6 separate regions of the Homo sapiens genome follow, and regions 1, 2, 3, 5 and 6 are each linked to region 4. The links are contacts of gene promoters, found by promoter capture Hi-C in blood cells and fetal thymus (Javierre and others, 2016). All regions are on one chromosome and are shown on one strand. The core of a region is centred on a gene start or on the middle of the fragment in contact, and the rest is flanking DNA. Distances in the headings are between cores, read along the strand shown.

Region 1 (2,700 bases), core at 127-2,626, 2.5 Mb before region 4:
CGGAAAGGGAAGAGAAAGGAACCAATATCAGTCCCTGCTTACCATATATGACTCACTCTGCTCAAGAACTGGATATATCAAAGTGAAGGTCTTGTTGACTGAGGTCTTGTTGACTCAAGGCACATCCTAGCCCCCTTATACATGTTTCTCCTAGATGCTTAAAGGAAAAGCTCTGTGTCTTAGTCTGTTTTCTGTTGCTTATAACAGAACACTTAAAACCGGGTAATGTATTTTAAAAAAGGAATTTATTTCTTATAGTTATGTAGGCTGAGTAGGCCAGTGCTGAGGGGCTACATCTGGTGAGGAGGGCCTCCTTTCTGGTGGGGACTCTGTAGAGTCCCGAGATGGCACAGGGCGTCACAGGGCAAGAGGCTGAGTGTGCTGGCTCTCGTCTCTTTTCCTCTTCTTATAAAGCCACTAGTCTCACTCCCATGATAACCTGTTAATTCATTACCCGATTAATCTATTAGTCCATGAATAGATTAATGCATTTATAAGGGCAGAGCCCTCACAATTCAATCACTTTTTAAAGGCCCCACATCTCTTTTTTTTTTTTTTTGAGAGGGAGTCTCCCTCTTTTGCCCAGGCCGGACTGCAGTGGCGCTATCTCGGCTCACTGCAAGCTCCACCTCCCGGGTTCACGCCATTCTCCTGCCTCAGCCTCCTAAGTAGCTGGGACTACAGGTGCCTGCCACCGTGCCCAGCTAATTTTTTTTTTTGTATTTTTAGTAGAGATGGAGTTTCACTGTGTTAGCCAGGATGGTCTCGATCTCCTGACCTCGTGATCCGCCCGCCTCGGCCTCCCAAAGTGCAGGGATTACAGGTGTGAGCCACTGTGCCCGGCCAAGGCCCCACATCTCTATACTGTCACATCAGGGATTAAATTTCAATGTGAGTTTTGGAGGGGCTAAATATTTAAACCATCCCAGGCTGCTTTAGGCACTGATACACTCTCCGCAACGGTAAGTATAGTACTTAGTAATCAAGAATATATACTGATTGAATAAGTGAAACTGATATAATACAGGGAGAAAGATCATAAGAAGGCACATGTGAATTCCAGCTGATAATAAATGAGCCGTACATGAAATACCCACATCTCCCTTGGATACCTCCATGACTATCACCAATCTGGATTATGGGGGAAAACCTTTGAATAAATTTAGAGTAGCTCTTAGCTATTTGTCATTTTAAGAGCTAGAGTAGTTCTTAGCAAGTCGTTATTTTGTCATTTGCCAGTTTTAAAAAAAGTAATAAGGTTAATAGACTTAACATCAAATAGATTCATTTATTCATCTAACATGTATTTATTAAGCGTCTATTATGTAGCAAACACTGTTCTAGATGCCAGAGGAATATAGTGGGAATAAAACAGAGTCCCTACTTTCATGGTGCATATATTCTAGTGGGGAGTAGTGGAGGGACAGATAATCAAGAAATACATATGTAAAAATATAATAGATGTAGGTGCTGTGGAGAAAAAAATGAGTGAATGGAACAGAAAATGCTTTAAGGAGAGACTGCAGGAAGTGAAGGAGTGCGCCTTGAGGAGATCTGCTGTCGCGGCATCCCTGGCAGAAGAAGCAGCTGAAGCCAGGTTACTGAGGCTGCAGCAGGCATGGTATGTTTTAGGGTTAGGAAGGGAGCCAGTGTGGTTATATAGCGAGCAAGGTCATAAGGGAGACAAAAGTGAGAGATGAGGGCAGAGGGGTCCTAGAAGGCCAGATCACATAGGACCTTTAGTTCAGAGTAAGGACTAACTTTTACCCTGAGATGGGGTAAAAAGCAATGTACATAATAGTCATCAAGTAATATTGATGCTCAGATATGAACTTTATTTCTCTCTCAACATTTCAGTAAAGGAATTTATGATTCATATCTTATGTAACAAAGAATTAAGATCTTTTATAAATAAAGGACATTTACAAATCTATAAGCAAGTATCCCAAATAAAATGTGAACTAAATAGGCAAAACAATAATAAATATAAATATAAGCCATGAAAATAAAATATTACTTTACTAGTGCTCAAAAAAATGTAGACTAAAATAATGAGCTACAAATTATAATCATGTAATTGTCAGACTGAAGGCAATGATAATAACCAATGTTGTGAGAATGTGGGGTAACAGGCATTCTCACAAACACGTGGTTCTATTTTCAGGCTATTGATGCCTGATAATTTGGTACCTTGTACTTAGTTATCTATTTACCTACTTATAGAATACTTTTTATCGGATCTAAGTGTGTTTTAGAATTCCTTGGATCCTGGCTGGGTGCAGTGGCTCACGCCTGTAATCCCAACAGTTTGGGAGGCTGAGGCAGGAGGATTGCTTGAGGCCATGAGTTTAAGACCAGCCTGGGCAACATAGCAAGGCCCGCTGTCTTTGCCAAAAAAAAAAAAAAAAAGCCACGTGTGGTGGTGCATGCCTGTAGTCTTAGCTACTCAGGAGGCTGAGGCAGGAGGATGGTTTGAGCCTGGGAGTTTGAGACTTCAATGAGCTATCATTGTGTCACTGCACTCAGCCTGGGTGACAGTGATACCCTGTCTCAAGAAAAAACGAAAAGGATTTCCCAATATTCGTACATTCCCAATATAGCACGTATTTGACAAAATTTTGGGAATGCTTTTTAGGAAAAATCTTCTGTAGTTAATAGACTGTCCGAGTCACTGATTTATTTAAAATGACAGAAACAAGG
Region 2 (2,700 bases), core at 124-2,623, 2.5 Mb before region 4:
TCAAGAGGGACATTTATTTGGATCTCATGATATGCTAGGCAGTGTACTATTTATATTGTTTGCTTCATGGTAACCACATGAAATATGTACTGTCATTTTTATTTTACATTTGAGGAAACTTGGATCACATAATTTGGCCAGGGTAGTCAGTAGACAAATTTGTATCAAGCCTTGGTCTCTGACATCAGATTCATTCTTTTCTATTACATGCATTTCTACTTCATTGTACTGTTTTACGTTTGTGCTCCGATAACATGAGCAGTGCAAAGTCATGGGGGCCAGTGGACTCTTACAGAGCTGTATTATTTTCATCTCCTGTTGCCTTGAATTCTAATACTGCTAGTAGAGGAGCTGACTTTTTTCTAATTAAAACAATTGTATTAGTGATTTCACATTAGATGGTATAATGTTTTCCCCCTCTTTTTGGTAGGTTGGAGCAGGATGGATTGGAAAATGTAAGTCTCTCTCAGTTTTTGGTTTGTATAGATTATTTCCTTATCTTTAAACCTACATATCCAGTTGAGATGGGTAAGATTTTTGTCAAATGCCTAACCATTGGATATAGTGCTTGCATATTCAAACTTAAACATTGCTATAGCAACAGGTATTTTTAAACATTGTGATTGTCCTATAGGTCTGTGGCCCTTTCAAGACCCTATCTATTCTTCCTGTAGGTAGTCCTTATTCAGGACTTGTCCTGTTTTATTCAGAACTGGCTATTCCTTCAGACAGCATATATTGATAATCATCCTCCCATGTCTTTGACTTCCCACATGCTCGTTCTTGCTGTTTCAGCAGAGAAGTGAGTGGGAGGGAGAGCTGTTTTGGAAAAAGATGGGTTGAGCCTATTCTAGAGCAGCAGGCAAGTTCTCCAATTTTCCCATGTAATTATTTTCTTCCATGAAGCAGGAGACGTCAAGGGGAGTGAGGAATCACATTGGACAACTTACTGGGACAGAAATTGCAGCTGATCTATGGGAATTATTCCGCTTTAGCCCAATAGTTATTTTAGATAGTAAAATTATTTTAAATAGTTATTTTAAATAACTATTTAAATTAAATATTTTAAATAGTTAAATAGTAAATTTACTTGGCTTCAACCCTCTCCTACCCCATCTCTCAAACCTTGTGAACTCCAAATTTGAGAATTGCTTTATGGCATTAAAAAAATTGTGAAAATTTCTGTGTCTCAGCTTATATTTAGTTGGCTATGGGTATCAAAATTAATCCAATTAACTGAATCAGTTAAAAGGTTGCTATCTCTGGAGGGCATTGCTGTAGTAGTATAATATTTTTAGAATTAATGGTCATTTTCTCTAATTGTTAAAGTGGCTTATATTCTTGAAGCATTTTTGAGTGTCTTATTGCATTCATTTAAAAAAGGAACATAAGGTTTTGCAGTAAAAGCTATATCTGGCACTTTATCAATAGGAAAGCTCTAGACACAGGCATTTCTGTCATTCCCAAAGACAAATCTTCAGTTTAACAATCATCAGTGTCTGACTATTATGTTTAAATAAGGTTATTAGTAGTTGTTTATACCTCTGGTTTTTAAAAAGAAAACAATGTTAAAAATTCTCCTTATGCAGCAGTAATGGTTTTTATGAATCTGTGCATTCTAACTGACTTCTTGTGGAAATAGAGGTAGAGCAAAGAGAAGGTAAGGGAGAATTATTTGGGGCCACCTGTTACACTAAATTTTTGTTAACTGAAGTCTTTGACCTATTATTTACTATTAGTCTTCAGTTTGCTAACTCAGCGAAGCTCTATTCAGTTATCTTCATTTTATAAACAAGAAGAATGAAGTATATTACTTTGGGGATCTGTGGTCATGAAGTCAGTCTTTTGATGTGATTATTATATAATTAAACTTTTTCACATACAGCATAACATTCTACCTTTAGTACTGTCTGGCATAGTCAGAGGAGAAATTTTTCCCTTCAGCTTCAAATGTTTCTTTAAATTGACCTTATCCTAGTGGGTTTGTTGGGAAAAATTCATTTTAAGGCTTATGGTAAAACTCTTTAGGAGTTAGAATCCCTTTTTTTCTGAATTTCCTTTCTCTTTAAAAATGAAAGGGTTCTTATGCATCTTACTTTCTGTCTCTCAACTATGTGCTCAGTATGTTAGTTTTGTTTCTATAACCAGTACGCTGGGAGCGGACTCTTGGAGCTATTGTAAGACAAAAGAATCACCCAATGACTCCTGAGGCAGTCAAGGCTAACTGGAAGAAGATCTGTGACTTTGAGAATGCCAGCAAGCCTCAGAGTATCCAAGGTAAAGAGAGTCCCCGTCACTTAGCCCTGGTTGGGGAATCAGAGGCAGCAAGCATTTTCTTCTCTTATGTAGTTGTCTTCTATGTTAACTGTAGTGTTAAGACACTTGAATCGTCTATAGCATATTTTCTGCTCTAGTAGGTATTAGAATTCTTCACATTTAAGATATTTATGTTATTCTCACTGTCAGTTTTTCAGCTTTATTATAATCCTGTTTTTTGGGTTTATGTGTGATTGGGGGATGGATGGCATAAGATGTTTACTCATTTGTGCTGAATGCACTTACATCCTCACTGATGGTTGGTTTCAAAGTCTTCCATTACCTACCTATATGCTCCCAATCTTACCATATTTTTCTCTTTCTTCCTTTCTTTCTTTCTTTTCTTTCTTTCTTTCTTTCTTTCTTTCTTTCTTTCTTTCTTTC
Region 3 (2,700 bases), core at 1-2,500, 2.5 Mb before region 4:
GTGTGTATAATTTTTTTAAAAAGTATATACTTTCCTCCTTTTACCCTATACAACATTGATTTTTTAGAATTCTGAGGGATCGTTCCTTTGCTAGGATAAGTGATGAAGACTGGGGTAAGTTGTTTTTAGTATTTCTCTGGGGAACATACTTATCCATTTAGCCTTTTTAGTATTTGATAAATTTATACATTTAAGGAAAAACCTGCTTCTATCTACTTTTGCTGCTAATATAAATGATGAGTAAACTGTATACTGAAGACAATGAATAGTTAGAAGTAGCCTCTTTTAGAAAACATTTAATACTTTTAAAAAATGTTAAATCATTTGTTTAGAAGATATCTAAAAGGATTTTATTTCTTCAGGTTTCCCTCTCCCCTTTTTTTCTCCTTAAGAGGTTGTCAGCATTTTCTAGAGGTATTAACTCTTAACAGCCTTTAACGTGCTTATCCAGCTGTGTGAATCTTTTTCAAGAACAGGAGCAGGATATTTAAGGGAGTCTAGTGCACTAAAAATGATGGAGATTTTAGAACAGGTTAGGACAAAACCTGGATATAATTTTGAAGCTTCTAGTAAATAGGAAAGTTTTCCATTCTTTCTGAATTGGAAAGATTGAGTTTAGATAATGAACAAATCACAGTTAAGAATTTTTTTTTTCTTTTGCTCCTCTTTGTGCTTACTTTCATTGGCCATCAGAACTAAAATGAACAGTGGTGGCTGAGACAGAGGGAAGCATGGCAACTGAGGTGAAACAATTGTATCATTGTTTATAGAGTGTGTTTTGGGGGAATAGTGCCTGACTGTCTTTTGGAAGAAGAGTTAGTGTCTTTGATTTAGAATTAAGCTAAGAAGAGCTTTTAGTTTCTGCTTCCCTTGTAACAACTGGGGTAAAAAAGAAGCTGAGAAAGATAGGATTTGCTGGCAAAGGGGGCCTATGTTGGTGCTTTTCTTGGTGCTGCAACGGGACTGAGGTATTTCCTTCTCTGATTCCATCCTACTAAGCCACTACTCCTGACTACCCTTCTCCCTCTCTTTCTTTTTTTTAGTTCCTTTTTTCACTCTTACATTCTTCTTCTAATATACACATGAAAACATTTGTTTTACCAAAAATAAGTAAGAATGCTTAAAAAACTTGACAATTAAAATCTAGAATTGTCTGTCTGAATGTTTCATAAGTGGTCTGTTCGTTAGATTGAAATTTGTGAAAACAGGCCTCTCACTAACTCATTTGCAAATGGTAACAATAGGGATCTAGTGAGTATTTTGTAAATATTTCTTAATGAGCTATGTGATTTATGATTATGCCTTAACTGATGTTAGTGTTGGGTGCCAGTTATATTTATAAAAATCTTGGATTTTATATTAGCAAAATTTTTATATGAAGTAGGCATAAAATAAGGGCGTAGCATTATATTTAGATGTGTATAGGCATTACATTAATTTTACAAATTATGAGGAGAGCTGTTGTAGTTCTAAGTGTGAAGTATTGATTAGTAGCATAACTGGAATAAAGGCAAAATACTCATTGGGGTGTGACAGTAGGCAATTTTATACATTAGGTATAAAATGAACATCTTTGTATAAATACAACATTGCTTATGTTGATTCTTAGACATGCCTAAGTTTTTACAAAATATTTAATAAAAATAATTTATTGTTTTAGATATAATCCACAGAGTTCATTTGCGGGGTTCATTCCAAGTGACACGGGCAGCATGGGAACACATGAAGAAACAGAAGTATGGAAGGTAGAGTTGCATGTGGTTGTCAAGGGGGATTTAAGATGTTGTGTCTGGGGGTTCTTGTGTACAGGGAAAGATTATGTGAAGTGTTGTGAAATGATTTATGACATTGAGGAATATGTACAACCTTTTAACATATGGTTTTGGCACATACCCTCATTAAATTGGTATAATTTAGTCACAGATTGGCTGAGCTGGAAAGCTTTATATTTATTTTTTACCTCTTTTTGTTATTAAAGATTTTCTTGCTGCTCTCTGGCAATTTTTATTTTATTTTGAGACATAGTTTCATTCTTGTCCAGGCTGGAGTACAGTGGCATGAACATGGCTCACTGTAGCCTTACCTCCTGGGCTCAAGCAGTCCTCCCACCTCAGCCTCCCAAGTAGCTGGGACTGCAGGTATGTGTCACCATGCCTGGCAAGTTTTTTAATTTTTTGGTAGAGACAGTATCTCGTTTTGTTGCCCAGGCTGGTCTCAAACTCTTGGGCCCAAGTAATCTTCCTGCCTTAGTTTCTGGCATTTTAGAAGATAGTATACACATTGAGGATTCGGTTATACCTTATTCTGTAACCCGAATATTATTTCATGTCTTACCAGCTGGGGAGAGATGAATGGCTAGTCCCTGCTGGCTGGTGCTAGTCAGACGTGAGTTAGTCTTTATAAACTGTTTAGGAACTGTAGGACCCCTCATGATTGCTCCTAGATAAGTAACTCATTGTGGCAGTGCTAGTATGCTTTAGTCCATGTCCTCTGTTGCACTCTAGTGCTGAGGTCATTCCTGTTAATTTAGGATTCATACATACCTAATAGAAGCAAATTGCTTGTGATGCCTGTTTTTGTTGGAGATTTCTAGTTTATCCTGGTCCTGACAGTTTCTGAAAATAAATAATATGATTTATTTTACTTAGCCTAAGTAGAGTGAGTGAGGTTGGGTCAGATTTTGAGATGGCATTGTTTTAA
Region 4 (2,700 bases), core at 50-2,549:
GATTACAAGCATGCGTCACCACGGTCGGCTAATTTTGTATTTTTAGTAGAGACGGGGTTTCTCCACGTTGGTCAGGCTGGTCTCGAACTCCCGACCTCAGGTGATCCGCCCGCCTAGGCTTCCTAAAGTACTGGGATTACAGGCATGAGCCACCACCCTCCGCCGGAAGAAACGTTTTTCCTGCATTTTGAATAAAGGGGCCTGGATTTTCATTTTGCACTGTACCCCAGGTATTATGTAGCTGGACTTGAAGTCCTGTAGCAGTGGACAGTCCCAGGCAAGTGACTCTGGGCGAGGCACTTGGTGCCTCTGAAGTCACTTTCCACATCTGTAAAATAATAGTTCAGAGCAGAGTAGGGTGGCTCACTCCTGTAGTCCTAGTTATTTGGAAGGCTGAGGTGAGAGGATGGCTTGAGCCCAAGAGTTTGAGGCTGCAGTGAGCTATGACTGTGCCACTGCACACCAGCCTGGATGACAAAGAGAGACTGGGTCTCTAACAAAATAATATTAATAAAAGGAAAATAATTTCTATCTTGTTGGATTTCTGTGGAGATTTGGAGCTAATTTATGTAAAGCTCTTGGACCACCATTTGACACATTTTAATGGTCAATACTAGAAGGTGTTGACAATTATATATTACCTAATTCAAACACACTCCCTTACGTCTCCTATGCTTGCCGGCTAATAAACAGCCATTCCCACAGGCAGTACCAAATGTGTATCCTGGTTTTGCTTCAAATGTTTATTCCCTAAATTTAAACCCTTCTATAGTGTGCAGGAAAAAAATGTCCGCACCTCAGCTATAATGTCAGGTTGTAACAAAAAACTGCGAGGATTTAAAAAGGTGTGCTTGTTAGAAAAGCAGAAATCTTCACAAATACTAGATTTAAAAAAATGGAAGCAAAAAATCGTTCATTCAAGTGATCATTTCAGAAGAGCTCTTTCACCGCCGTTCAGCGCCCCCCTAGCCATTAGAGAGAAAAACCAAGGCCGGTACAATGCGAGCGCAGTGTACCAAGGGAACACACACACACACACACACACACACACACACACACACACACACACACAAACCGAATCTTGAAAAACTAGACGTTGCCCAGCTACCAGCCCCCGTCTGGTTTCCATAGGAACGCGCAATTCCGTTGCGTAGCCCTCTGCGCCGGTAGTTGTTCTGTCTCAGTTCCGGTTTTCCCTTCCAAGCGTCAATGTTTCTTGTTCCCAGGCGGCAGCTAGAGCAGAAGGCGGATGAGTTTTGGACAGAAGAGGCTTCCGTTGAGGGGCGTGGCGACGCAGCCGCGGTCTGAGAGACCGGTTCACGTGCAGGCAGCGGCGGATCATATTCCTTCATCTACCATGGCTCAGCCGGGAACTCTGAACCTCAATAACGAGGTGAGCGCCGAGGAACCTATGGGGCTGACTTTAAGGGTCCTCAAAACCAGCTCTTTTGAGACGCGTGGTCGGAGGCGGGCATAGAGGGTGCGGTTGGAGGAACTTTCGTGGTGGGCCCAGGCGGGTTTCCCGCAACTTGGAGTTTGGCAACCGGTAATTTCCCTTTTCGGTCTCCAGGTGACTAAAGTGAGAGACATGTGTCAGGCCCCACGAATTTATGTCTGTGGGACTTTGGGAAGAACCTTTAGCCTGTACGTTCAATATTCTCGTCTGTAAAGCGGAACTCAAGATAGTTCGTCCCAGGGTTGTGAGATTAACTGAGATACGTAAAGTATTTGCAAGTGCCTGACCCTTAATAAACTTTCAGTACACATTACCTGCTCTTTATTGCCTGTCGAAAATGAAAGAGAGAAAGTAAGAGCTGTAGCTTCTAAGAAATTGGTGGTCTTGAATGAGACTGTATGCTCAGTACTTCGTTTCCTCTTCCAGTTAGTGTCCTATTTCTTTGCTTCCGTTTACAGCAGAACTTCAATAAAGAGCTGTTTATACTTGCTATCCTCAATTCTTTTTTCTGCTTTTTCAGTCCATTCTCATCAGACATTTGTTCTCACCACCGTCACTTCCATAGTGTGCGGTGTCGACAAAATACCATTTCTACCACTTATCCCCCTCTGGTTTCTGCTTCTATTCAACAAAATAATGTCATCCAAAGTCTTAAAGTAAGCTGGAAACATAAGGATCGAGTAAGGACCTCACAGTTAGATACAGAAAGGAAATTCTTTATCCCGTTTATGAGCAAGTCACTGTTTAGATTACACACAGTAGTGTAAGGGATATTTCATATTTTCTAGTAACCTATACTCAAGTAAGAGAGCTAAGCAACACTCACCTGTGTTACAGAACAATGTGTGAAGAATGCCTCCAAAACCTAGTAATGCAGAAAAGTTTCCAAAGGCGGCAAAATGAAATGGGTGATACTTGTCCTTGGTCTTTAGGGATCTTGCACAGGAATTGCAGTCAGTGATTCAGGAAAGGGGAAGAAGTCATTCCAGGCAGAGGGACTGGTATAAGCAGGAAAGGGCTAGTAGCAGAAGAACCCGTGGGTAATACAGGGATAAGTAACTCTTCACTGATGGGAACTTGTGAGATGAAGAAGGAAATAAAACTGAAATATATTCTCTGCTGCCAGATTAACGAGTCAGGATTTCAGTTGACAGTGGAGTACAGGATATGCTGAAGAGGGAAGCTGAAAGTAGTTACTATTTACTCATAAACATACATTAAGCTTGTGCTTTGTGCCAGAAAGC
Region 5 (2,700 bases), core at 44-2,543, 2.4 Mb before region 4:
TGTTTAGAGCATTTAACATTTATGTATTATTTCCACTTTTCTGTATCTTTTAGTTTTAGATTTGCAGTTGAATATGTCAACCCTTTTGCCAAAGCTTCTTAGTCAGCTCTTAGTTGGATGAAGCTCCTTCTGTGGAAGGTTTCCCAAGAACGGCTCCTGTGTATAGTGTTGCCTTGGTTTCTATATCTTTAAAACTATTTACCCTAGATACTTGAAGGGACAGCATTGTTGGATATAAAATCTTATTTCTTAAAAATGGTGCATCATTGTTGTCTTACTTTGTATGTTGCCTTTGAAAAGTCTGATGCCAATCTAATTATCTTCCCCTGTAAGTTACTTGATCTTTACCCTGAGGCCCTCAAGATTATTTTCGTTTTTAAAGTCTAATGGTTTTGCTGGGATATGTCTCAGTCTTGCATGTTGCAGGTCAGTCTTCCTTATATACCTGGTGGGCCTTTTTAATATGTATATTCATGTCTTTTAGTTTTATAGTATTAAAATTTTAAATATTAGTTCTCTTTCACTGTTTTGCTTTTCTTTCTTTGGGTATCCATTTATATGTATGTTGAATCTTTTCATGTCTTTCAACTACTTTTCTTCTGTTCTTTTTTAGTTGCTTCTTGATCTCATTTTCATTCTCATGGTTCATTTCTGCCCTTTCTGCCATCCCCTTATTTAATTTTTATTTGAATGTGTTCTCCTTTGGGTACCTTATAATTTAGTCTTCATTTCTTATATGATTTTGATTTTTTCTTTCCATTTCTTTCTTGAATTTAATCATTACTTATTTATTTCTTCATGTATGTCATCCATTTATTTTCTTAGTTTTTGGATTTTGGATTCAGAGTGTTTGTTTTACATCCCCAAATGCTTGAGTGTTTTGTTACAGTTTTCTTCTGTTTGGCAGTTTGTTTATTTGGAGGGGGGGTGGATTTTATTTACTAAAAGGTTTTGTTTTGCATTTTCAGTTTTGGTTTTTTTTTTTTAAATATATATGTATTTTTATTATACTTTAAGTTCTAGGGTACATGTGCACAATGTGCAGGTTTGTTACATACGTATACATGTGCCATGTTGGTGTGCTGCACCCGTTAACTCGTCATTTACGTTAGGTATATCTCCTAATGATATCCCTCCCTCCTCCCCCACCCCACAACAGGCCCCGGTGTGTGATGTTCCCCTTCCTGTGTCCAAGTGTTCTCATTATTCAATTCCCACGTATGAGTGAGAACATGTGGTGTTTGGTTTTTTGTCCTTGCAATAGTTTTCTGAGAATGATGGTTTCCAGCTTCATCCATGTCCCTACAAAAGACATGAACTCATCCTTTTTTATGACTGCATAGTATTTCATGGTGTATATGTGCTACATTTTTTTAATCCAGTCTATCATTGTTGGACATTTGGGTTGGTTCCAAGTCTTTGCTATTGTGAGTAGTGCTGCAATAAACATACGTGTGCATGTGTCTTTATAGCAGCATGATTATAATCCTTTGGGTATATACCCAGTAATGGGATGGCTGGGTCAAATGGTATTGCTAGTTCTAGATCCCTGAGGAATTGCAATTTTAGTTTTATGTTAGTGTTGTACAGATGAAGAATATTTACCTCTGTGCGTTTTGTGGTTTGGGGTGGTTTCCAAGATTCTTAGTTCAAAATTGCCCTTTCTCTCTGTGTAGCAACATGCAATTTCTTTAGTGGGTGGCTTTAAAGAAGGGGCACTGTGGGGAGGTGTTTTATTTTTAAAAATAAAATAAATTATCTTTCAGGATCATTAATTTCCTCTCTTGCTTCTTTTTTTCTTCATCCAGTCTCCAAAGGTGATATCTTTGTTTTATTCTGTTCTCCCCGAAAGTGATACCTTTCTGGAATTGCCACTGGAAGACTAGTGTACTATTAATTATTTTCATTGTAGTCAGTGCTGTAATCTTCCAGGATTCATTTCAGTATTTTTGCCCTTAAGATGGATTTATCTGGGAGTGATTTTCCTTTTCCCTCTTCCATGCACTGCTTTTGCACCCCCCAAGCCCTGCCACTCTGCAGTAGCTTTCAGAGGGTGCTCAAAAGTTAGCACTGATAGAAAAGTGGTGTTTATTTTGAGACTTACTGGAATTTGAACTCTGCAGTGTTCTCTGTCTTCTAGTTACACTGTAGGCTTGAGATTTGTGTAGTTTTATTTGTTCTCATTATTTGTATTTTTTTTTTCGAGGATATGAGGACTTAAAAAGCACTAGTTTCCTGAGCCTATTTATTTAGCATTTAGTTTAACTTAATGGTACAATTTTAAAAAATCAAATTAAGGAATAGTTTACCTGTATGCAGATTATCCTCCCACCTACTTTTAATATGCAAAATAATATATAGCTATTTTTCTTTTTCTTATTTTTTTGGTGGTTGTTATTTATAATGACTTATTTCCAGGCAGAAATGAAACGAAACAAGAAACTTTTAGCTTTCCTTCTGAAATATGCCATTTCTTCAAAATACGTAGAAGATAAGCTTTGGCAGTGGTCATTATTAATTGAACAATGCTTATTTTGTGTTATGATTGAATGGGTCAAACATCTAGTCAGTTGGCTTTTGTCATTTCTCATAATGAACCTTTTTTGTCTTCGTTTAACTCTGTTATCTATAGAAAGCAATGCTATCATTGAAATAATGTGAGATATTTCATATTAATACGATTTCTTCAGAACACTGTAT
Region 6 (2,711 bases), core at 124-2,623, 2.9 Mb before region 4:
TCAGGCATGGTGATTCATGCCTATAATCCCAGCACTTTGGGAGGCTGAGATGGGTGGATCACTTGAGGTCAGGAGTTTGAGACCAACCTGGCCAACATGGTGAAATCCTGTCTCTACTAAAAATACAAAAATTTGCTGGGCATGGTGTTGTGCGCCTGTAATCACAGCTACTCAGGAGGCTGAGACAGGAGAATCACTTGAACCCAGAAGGCGGAGGTTGCAGTGAGCCGAGATGGTGACACTGCAATCCAGCCTCGGCAAGAAAGCAAGACTCCATCTCAAAAAAAAAAAAAAAAAGAAGTGATTCTTTTTAAAAAAAACACACAATGTGGATATCTGATTCTAATAGTGGCAGACAAAGTGATATAGTTTGACTGTGTCCCCCACATTTCATGTGTTGAAAACTTAACTCCCAATGCAATAGTGTTGGGAGGTGGGGCCTAATGAGAGGTGTTTAGGTCACGAGTTTGTCAAAAGATGCTAGAGAAAATTATCTCTAAATATGTTGAGTCTACTTGGAAATAGAAATAAGGATTATAGGCCGGGTGCCTGTAATCCCAGCACTTTGGGAGGCCGAGGTGGGCGGATCACGAAGTCAGGAGATCGAGACCATCCTGGCTAACACGGTGAAACCCCGTCTCTACTAAAAGTACAAAAAATTAGCCGGGGGTGGTGGCGGGCGCCTGTGGTCACAACTACTTGGGAGGCTGAGGCAGGAGAATGGCGCGAACCCAGGAGGCGGAGCTTGCAGTGAGCCGAGATCAAGCCACTGCACTCCAGCCTGGCAACAGTGCAAGACTCCGTCTCAAAAAAAAAAAAGAAAAAAGAAAAGAAATAAGGATTATAATCTGGAATGCATGACATGGCAAATCACCAGAGCATTCAGTGAAGAAAGGGTAAGGAGAGCCTTTATTAGCAAAAAATATTTACATGAGCTGCTTAGAAATGGCTCATTGGTCATGGAGTTTCTAAGCCAGAGTTGCTGTTAGTTCATTGATAGAAATGCCATTACTGGGCAAATGTTTTTCCAAGAACAGCTCAACTTAATCACTGCAGTCTTAAAGAATGTCTTGTGATAAATCTTTTGCGTTTTTTTGTTTGTTTGTTTGTTTTTTTGAGATGGAGTCTCACTCTGTCGCCCAGGCTGGATACAGTAGCGCTGTAGTGAGCTCACTGCAACCTTCACCTCCTGGGTTCGAGTAATTCTCTTGCCTCAGCCTCCTGAGTAGCTAGGATTACAGGCACATGCCACCACACCTGGCTAATTTTTGTATTTTTAGTAGAGATGAGGTTTCACCACATTGACCAGGCTGGTCTCAAACTCCTGACCTCAAGTGATCAGCCCGCCTCAGCCTCCCAAAGTGCTGGGATTATAAGCGTGAGCCACCGTGCCCGGCCATCTTGTGATAAATCTTATCAAAGGGTGTATGAAAGAAGTGAAAGGATTTTTAGAAAGTTCTTGGAACAGTTCTTATCTCAGATATGTAAGTATGAGCCTCCTCTCCTTCAGGACTTGCTGTCCCTATTTTGCCCTGTGGAGACACAGAGCTAAACCATATCATTCCACCCATGGCCTCTCCCAAATCTCATGTCATTCTCACATTTCAACACACAATCATGCCTTCCCAAAAGTCCCCAAAAGAAAAAAAATAAAGAAAATCATTGCCAGTCCCTTGAGCAGATGATATAACTCATACCAATACTTGTATAGAAGAAGCATATTCTGAGTATTCAAAATTGAATCAGACTCAGAGGTAAAAAGATATAGCCTCAAAAAATGTGGCATACCTAAAATATCCGTGAATCTTCTTACTCATTTAAATAAACTAAATTTGAATTTCAAATTCACTGACTTTTCCTATTACTATGATGTGAGACAGGAAGCGTCCTTCAAGATTTATACTTTTTAAAAAATAAATGACTACACTATTTTTCAACAGGACGAATGCTACAGGAAATGAGCATACAAAATAAGAAACAGAAAGTGGAGGCGGTTAGCAATGGCTTTAATTTGGCTCCTTACTTTCACACAAAAACACCTGCAGAGAGCTTCAAATGCTATGCATGTGCTGATGATTCTCAAATTTACAACTTCTGAAAAAGTCTTTTTTCTGACACCCCCACATCCTCCTGTTCATTCTTCAGATCTCAGCCTAAAAAAGGTCAATTCCCAGAGAATCCCTTTCCTGAGATCCAAGACTAGGTCAGTTTTAAGACAGGGGTTTTCAATCCTTTTGACCTTGATCTACCATAAGAAATATATTTCATATCATGATCTGGTGCACACATATGCAAATATGCATTCTTAAACAAATGATTATCTCTATCTGCCAGTCACTATTATAAACCACTAGGGATACAAAGTGAATAAAACGTATAAAAACTTTGCTTTAATGGAGTTTACATTCTAGTAATTCTGTTTCTGCCTTTGCCTTCCTTAAAACTATTCTCAATCCTGCAGCCAAAGTGATCCTATTAAAACATAAATCAGACGTCACTCTTTTCCTCAATGCCATCCAATGGCTTCCCATCTCACTCAGAGTCAAAACCAAGGCCCTGCCTACTACAAATCACGTAGCCTTACATGATCTGCCCCACTGACCATGACTCACCCTCTTTCCTCGTCACCTGCTAGTCCTCCCATTCACTCCCCTTCAGTCATATTGGCCTTGCTTCTCTTCAGACGGGCCAGCCACACTCAGGGCCTTTGC

Evidence for each region. Contacts are between HindIII fragments. The CHiCAGO score rates a contact against its expected background, and 5 or more counts as called.
Region 1: a contact is called between a fragment that was not itself captured here and the fragment with the promoter of SRFBP1 in region 4, in 6 of 17 cell types (endothelial precursors, naive CD4 T cells, fetal thymus and 3 more). The highest score is 10.0, in endothelial precursors.
Region 2: a fragment that was not itself captured here is called in contact with the fragment with the promoter of SRFBP1 in region 4 in 2 of 17 cell types (naive CD8 T cells and total CD4 T cells); the score reaches 5.4 in naive CD8 T cells.
Region 3: a contact is called between a fragment that was not itself captured here and the fragment with the promoter of SRFBP1 in region 4, in 5 of 17 cell types (endothelial precursors, naive B cells, naive CD8 T cells and 2 more). The highest score is 10.0, in endothelial precursors.
Region 5: a fragment that was not itself captured here is called in contact with the fragment with the promoter of SRFBP1 in region 4 in 1 of 17 cell types (naive B cells); the score reaches 5.6 in naive B cells.
Region 6: a contact is called between a fragment that was not itself captured here and the fragment with the promoter of SRFBP1 in region 4, in 2 of 17 cell types (naive B cells and total CD4 T cells). The highest score is 5.6, in naive B cells.

The regions. Positions count from the first base shown.
Region 1 is chr5:119,459,330-119,462,029 of GRCh38, forward strand. The region is part of intron 2 of HSD17B4 (hydroxysteroid 17-beta dehydrogenase 4); the gene reads left to right. Among named protein-coding and RNA genes, the nearest start is that of HSD17B4, 8.2 kb to the left of the region's middle. RefSeq lists an enhancer at 1-97 and a silencer at 2,243-2,460. The HindIII fragment of the contact is 3,959 bases long and covers 1-2,700 here.
Region 2 is chr5:119,491,670-119,494,369 of GRCh38, forward strand. It overlaps HSD17B4 (hydroxysteroid 17-beta dehydrogenase 4), which reads left to right. Exons shown (of 24, transcript NM_000414.4): 10 at 431-455; 11 at 2,149-2,277. Among named protein-coding and RNA genes, the nearest start is that of HSD17B4, 41 kb to the left of the region's middle. The HindIII fragment of the contact is 6,928 bases long and covers 1-2,700 here.
Region 3 is chr5:119,475,757-119,478,456 of GRCh38, forward strand. It overlaps HSD17B4 (hydroxysteroid 17-beta dehydrogenase 4), which reads left to right. Exons shown (of 24, transcript NM_000414.4): 6 at 68-114; 7 at 1,661-1,745. Among named protein-coding and RNA genes, the nearest start is that of HSD17B4, 25 kb to the left of the region's middle. The HindIII fragment of the contact is 1,378 bases long and covers 562-1,939 here.
Region 4 is chr5:121,960,676-121,963,375 of GRCh38, forward strand. It overlaps SRFBP1 (serum response factor binding protein 1), which reads left to right and starts at 1,300. Exons shown (of 8, transcript NM_152546.3): 1 at 1,300-1,393. The coding sequence starts at 1,358. RefSeq lists enhancers at 953-1,491, 1,236-1,285. The HindIII fragment of the contact is 3,156 bases long and covers 1-2,676 here.
Region 5 is chr5:119,520,946-119,523,645 of GRCh38, forward strand. All of the region lies in intron 17 of HSD17B4 (hydroxysteroid 17-beta dehydrogenase 4), which reads left to right. Among named protein-coding and RNA genes, the nearest start is that of HSD17B4, 70 kb to the left of the region's middle. The HindIII fragment of the contact is 2,402 bases long and covers 93-2,494 here.
Region 6 is chr5:119,029,506-119,032,216 of GRCh38, forward strand. All of the region lies in intron 1 of DMXL1-DT (DMXL1 divergent transcript), which reads right to left. Among named protein-coding and RNA genes, the nearest start is that of DMXL1-DT, 40 kb to the right of the region's middle. RefSeq lists an enhancer at 2,337-2,386. The HindIII fragment of the contact is 3,610 bases long and covers 1-2,711 here.